Linked DNA regions of Homo sapiens: region 1 is linked to region 2. The links are contacts of gene promoters, found by promoter capture Hi-C in blood cells and fetal thymus (Javierre and others, 2016). All regions are on one chromosome and are shown on one strand. Each heading gives the region's core, a stretch centred on a gene start or on the middle of the fragment in contact. The rest is flanking DNA. Distances are from core to core; before and after follow the strand shown. Region 1 holds the start of KIF5C (kinesin family member 5C). Region 2 holds the start of NMI (N-myc and STAT interactor).

The links. Contacts are between HindIII fragments. The CHiCAGO score rates a contact against its expected background, and 5 or more counts as called.
Region 1: a contact is called between the fragment with the promoter of KIF5C here and the fragment with the promoter of NMI in region 2, in 1 of 17 cell types (naive CD8 T cells). The highest score is 11.7, in naive CD8 T cells.

What each region holds. Positions count from the first base shown.
Region 1 is chr2:148,873,878-148,876,737 of GRCh38, reverse strand. It overlaps KIF5C (kinesin family member 5C), which reads right to left and starts at 1,511. Exons shown (of 26, transcript NM_004522.3): 1 at 995-1,511. The coding sequence starts at 1,120. KIF5C-AS1 (KIF5C antisense RNA 1) reads left to right here. Exons shown (of 4, transcript XR_001739733.2): 4 at 543-2,860. RefSeq lists enhancers at 1-266, 267-845 and a silencer at 1,218-1,687. The HindIII fragment of the contact is 10,493 bases long and covers 1-2,860 here.
Region 2 is chr2:151,288,405-151,291,104 of GRCh38, reverse strand. NMI (N-myc and STAT interactor) reads left to right here and starts at 1,437. Exons shown (of 8, transcript NM_004688.3): 1 at 1,437-1,512. RefSeq lists enhancers at 849-1,268, 1,329-1,408, 1,799-1,848, 1,869-1,918 and a silencer at 1,469-1,668. The HindIII fragment of the contact is 4,870 bases long and covers 1-2,700 here.

The DNA.
Region 1 (2,860 bases), core at 262-2,761, 2.4 Mb after region 2:
GGGGGACCGAGCTGGTTTGTTTCATCTGACAGATTCCTTTAAGAACTACAATCCATTGGTGTTCCCTCCCCCTACCAGCAGCCCCAGCTGCAGAGAGGGAGCTAAGTAGGGGGAGGGGGTGGGGGAGAAAAGGTGGGGAAGGGAGATAGAGAGGGAGGGGGGTCCGAGCCGCACGAAGTAACTTCTGCTCTTGGCACAGGGGGCTACTGCGCTCTGAGCCCCCTCGCCCCACAGATGTGGACACAGCCTCCTCTCCACCCAGCGTGAGGCGCATCAGAGGGTCTGCAGACATGGGAGGGAGGTCATCCCAGAGGGGAGGGATCAAGCCGGGACTCCACATCCAGGGCAGCCAGGCGTGAGAGGAAGCGGGAGACACACCAGGCCTCCAGGGGACACCGAGGCCACCAGTACTCCCCCAACCCTCCGCCTTCCGCGCGCGGAGCCAGGTGTAACACCGCGGGGAGCCGCGTCTACACTGCCGCGGGAGCTCCGAGACGCGACTAGAAATTTTCCTGTACCCCTTTTTCTTTCTTTTTTGCTAGGGTCGTGAGAAGAAGAGGCAAGGCGTTTGGTAAATCGAATTGATTGATGCCCAGAAGCATTTGCGGGTTGCAGAGCTCACACTTTAAAGGGGGCCTGGGCACCCGGCTTGAGGGTCACCCGAACACACTACCCACGCGGCGAGGCGAGCGTGGGGAACAATGGGCCCACCCGGGCCCCCACCCGGCGAACAATGGCGGCGCCGAGCCCGTCTTCGCCCCCCATCCCCACCCCCGCCACCCCCGCCCGGCCCGCCGCTCCCGGCCGCCTCTCCACCCGCCCGGGAGGGAACCATAGTGCGCGGGGCGAGGGGTCTCTGGTCAGGTCCACCCGAGAGGCCAGCCCCGCGGGAATGTCCGAGGGGGCGGCCTAAACACCTCCGCTGCGTCTGGGGCGTCGGGGCGCCCAGCTGCGGCGCGGAGCAGCAGGGAAGGCAGACGCCCCAGCCACTTACCCCGATCACCACGGTCTCATCGCCTTTAAATTTGGGGATGAATTTGTCCCCGCGGAGGATCTCCGCTTCGTTGAGGGGCCGGAACCGGCACATCACTTTGATGCTGCATTCGGCTGGATCCGCCATCTCGGCCGGCGGTAGGGAGGGGGCACGGGGATGGGTGGGGGGCCGGGGCCGGGAACGACGAGGGAGGAGGCCGCGAGCTGCACCGCCCACAGCTAGGCCGCCTCCTGCAGCCTCCGACGACGCTTCTCAGCAGGTCATCGCGAGCCCGGCCGGCTGAGCAGCCCCGGCCGCTCCGAGCCCGGGAAGGTGGGCAGCTTCTCCGCTCCGGCCCCTCCGGCTGCAGACCGGCCTGCCCTGGCCCTGCCCCGCCCCTGCCCAGCGCCCCCCGGCCCACCTGCCCGCGACCACGCGGCGGGCGGAGGAGGCGATGCGCAGGGAGCGAGCCTCGCCCGGCTCAGACCTCCCGGGCTCCTGCGCGCTCAGCCATCCTGCATCAGCACCAGCGCGCTCTGCCGCCTTGAGACCCGCCCCTCCGCCCCGCCCTCCCCTGGCCCGCCCCGGGACGGTGACGTCACCGTAGAGGTCCGCCCGGCCCCCGCCCGACTCCGAGCGCTGCGCATCCCGGGACTTGTAGTCACTCTACCTGCCGGGGGAAGGACAGGATGCGACCTCCAAGAGCCTGCAAGTCCGGTCTGGCTGCCCAAGCCGGAACCGGATGGAGGTCATATCCAATATTTCCGGTTAAAATCTCTAGATAACTGGGTCTGGATCATCCTGATCCCAAAAGAAAATCACTTGGGAAACAGCTCCCAATAGCCCCTGGGTTTCATCCTTCAACTTCTACCACTAGATAAGGATGGATGTCTGTTCAGAGTTTGGGTTTGATTGGCCTTGGTTTAGGTTGGCATCTAGTGCTAAACCAATCAACCAGAATCAGGGATTTTGTAAGATTATGGAGGAATCCCTTGGTGGGAAGGTTCCCAAAAGAAGAGGGATGGTATTCCCAGACATGGTGCCGGGCTGGCAGAACAACTGAGTGTCCACTCTATTTTTCCAGAACTTCCTTTTCCTCTAAGACCTAGCTCAACCCTCCTTCCTCAGACTTTCCCAGCTCACTAAACACCTATAAAGAGTTGGTGGCCCTCCTTGATGTTCCCCTAATCTGCTGTGCCTGTCTCTAGCACTGCACTTGGGTGGTGATATCTGCTTGATATCTTTGTGTCTGTAGCATCTAGCACATAGTGGGCAGCATACTGAATAAGGATTCTACCCTAGGAAGAAGCAATGCATGAGTGTGAATCCCACCTCAGCCACTTATTAGATGTATGACCAACAGGCGGAGGAAATTAAGAGCGGAGGAAATTAAGAAGTCTTAATTTCCTTAAGACTCAGTTTCCTCATCTCTGTCATTGGAATAATATCATCTTGTGATTTCTGGGGGAATTAAAAGACAGATGCTTTTAAAGCACCTAGCACGGTGCCTGACATGTATATAGGATAAGCTCTTGAAAGTTAGATGTTATTGGGTGCTGAACAAATGATCATAAAACAAATAAGTTAGTTAATTTTAGGAACACATCTGTTGCTTAAATTCGGGTAATACCTGAAAATACAAGTGTTCTCTGCCTAGCTGAGAGGACAGACCTACTAAAATCAACTTTTATAAACCCTTGTAAGTAGTACCAGTTCTATTTCATCTCCTCATGTGCAGTGGAAGTAGATTAAAAAGACCCAGGTGCCACCTTCTCATCTGTTTTTAAATTAAGTAATTCTCAGGCTCTGGCTCAGAGACCCATCATCTTAAATGATCAACTTCATAATATACTAGAGAGGACAATCCAATTCTCAGTTTCCCTGAGC
Region 2 (2,700 bases), core at 188-2,687:
CCTTTTAAACAGAATCTGAGTCAATATATTAAGTTAGTCCTGTTCTGGCCATGGTCCTGTCCTTTAGTATCTTCTTGTAAAAAATAAAAATAAGAAGAAATGAGGTTCAACTAAATAACCTCGAGAGTTCATATTCCCTCTAAAATTTCAAGGTAAAACTAAAGTAATTCTTTCTCAAGTTGCAGCAGAAGGAGTTTTTGTATTTTCTAACTGGTCTGATAAGCACAAAGAAGTCGTTTTTTTTACTTAGAAATGCCATTTTACAGGAGGCTGAGGTGGTGGGATCACTTGGGCCAGAGCTCAAGATCAGCCTGGGAAACAGTTAGATACCTGCCCCCAGCACCCAAATTAAAAGTACAAAAAATCTGGGTGCGGTCGTGAATTCCTGTAATCCCAGCTACTTGGGAGTGGAGGTGGAAGGACTGCTTGAGCTCAGGAGTTGGAGACTGGGCAACAGAGCAAGACTCATCTCAAAAAAAAAAAAAAAAAAGAGAAATGTCACCACTTTAAACTGGTTCCCATCAACCTTTTTGATACAAAGAAATTTTACTTTTGTTAAACTATTTTAGACCACTGTATCAGTTATTATATGTGACTAGGTAGCATGATAACCTATAATTTATGCCTTGAAATAATTTTGACTCATTTTCTTCCCACATCTGTATTTATGAGCCGGGGCAGCTGTGGGGTGGTTCTTTGTGTGGGATTAAGAGACACTGCAGTTCTTGAAATAAACCAGATGTTTGAATTTTCAAAGGAAAAGTTCACACCTAGTGAAGTATTTATTTACAAGCTCCACAACAAAACAAGAGATTATAAGAAAACTTTCAAGGGACATGGGTCACAGAAACCAACAGGAACACCACAGCTTTCCCAACTTCATGGCCCCGGGGGATGTTACAAAAGACACAGAAACGCCGATCTTGTGCTGACTGTAAACATTTGTCAACTAGTGTTACAATGACTAAGAAATTACAAAAGAGTTACAATCTGATGAAGAGCGATTCCTGCTTTGACTTTATTTGGTTTCTATCCACTTTTCCAACATACCTTATAAAATACATGCAAAAAACTGGTTTTAGAAAGCGTTCCCTAAAATTAGTGTGTACGGAAACTTCAGGTATACTTCTGCTTTCCTCCGCAAAACCACCCCTTTTTAAAAATCGAAAGTGAAATTAGTTTTTTTTTCTGTTAGTGACTAATCATTGGAGACAACCATGTTTAGTATTTGAGCATTGGTTAAATGCTAAAGAAAAATCGCCGTTAAAGCAGTTTTCTTTTTCACTGTCTTTTTCTTTTCGCGGGGAACCCAGCTGTTCCTGCGAGGGCCACCTCCTCAGGAAGACCCCGCAGCTCTCCCGCGGCGCTTCTGCAGGAGGCAGCGACAGTTTCGAGAACCCGGGCCTTCCCCTCCCAGTGCCTCCCGGGGTTCCGGCGTTTCAGGCGCTGCTGTTTTCCGGGAAGGGCAGGCGCGCTGGGCCTTGGGGAGCTGCGCTCGGCGGGCGGACGCGGGTGAGTGGGGAGTCCCTTCCCCGGCTGCCACTCCCGCCGCTGGCAGTCCCGGGCTGGAGAGCCGGGGGTGGAAAGGGAGGTGGGAGCCCTCAGCGCCGACGGAAGTGGGACAGCGCCGGAGTTGAGACCCTGCTCCCCGGGAGCTGCCCGCAGCCGAGTCGCGGAGGCCACGCCGCCTTCGAGGGGGCGCACCTGCTCCTGGGCCCGCTGTGCAGTCTCTGGGCCGTCAGGGCTTCGAGCCTTGTCACTTGTTTGCTTTGCTTCATTGAGGAAATTGAAACATAAAGTTATTTGTGTTTCCTCGCTGTTTTCTCTCTTTTTTTTTTTTTTTTTTTTTTTTGAGACGGAGTCTCGCTCTGTCGCTCAGGCTGGAGTGCAGTGGCGCGATCTCGGCTCACTGCAAGCTCCGCCTCCCGGGTTCACGCCATTCTCCAGCCTCAGCCTCCCGAGTAGAGTAGCTGGGACTACAGGCGCCCGCCACCACGCCTGGCTAATTTTTTTTTTTGTATTTTTAGTAGAGACGGGGTTTCACCGTGTTAACCAGGATGGATACGATCTCCTGACCTCGTGATCCGCACGCCTCGGCCTCCCAAAGTGCTGGGATTACAGGCGTGAGCCACCGCGCCCGGCCCTCGCTGTTTTCTCCGAGTGTCTCTGGAGATAGTCCTTAGGAAAACGGATTTCTTAAGAAAACGATTCTTGGTAGGGGCAGTGTTGTGCAGTCATGGCTGGCGTGTCAGAATAGGCAAGGTTTTTCTTGAAGGAGACATCCGAAGGAGAATACTGTGTTTCCAGTCTGTACAACAGGCAGACGTTCTATTGCCTTTCTTTTTGCTGCCACGCATGCATATAGGAAGATTCGATTCTACACGGCCTGGCACCGCAGTTATATGATTGTATTACGGAAATACGGTGATGTTGATTTGTATCAGTTTTTTTAATTCGCTGCCATAACAAATTACATGGCTTTAGTGGCTTAAACACATAGGAACGCGCGCGCGCGCGCACACACACACACACACACACACTCACATACACAATTTACTATCTTAGGATTCTGTAGCAGTCCTACTGAGGTCTCACTGGGTTAAAATCAAAGTGTTGGCAGGGTTGCCTTCCTTTCTGGAAGCTCTTGGGGTGAATCCTCTTTCCATCTTCCGGAGGCCACCTACCTTATTTGGCTCAGCA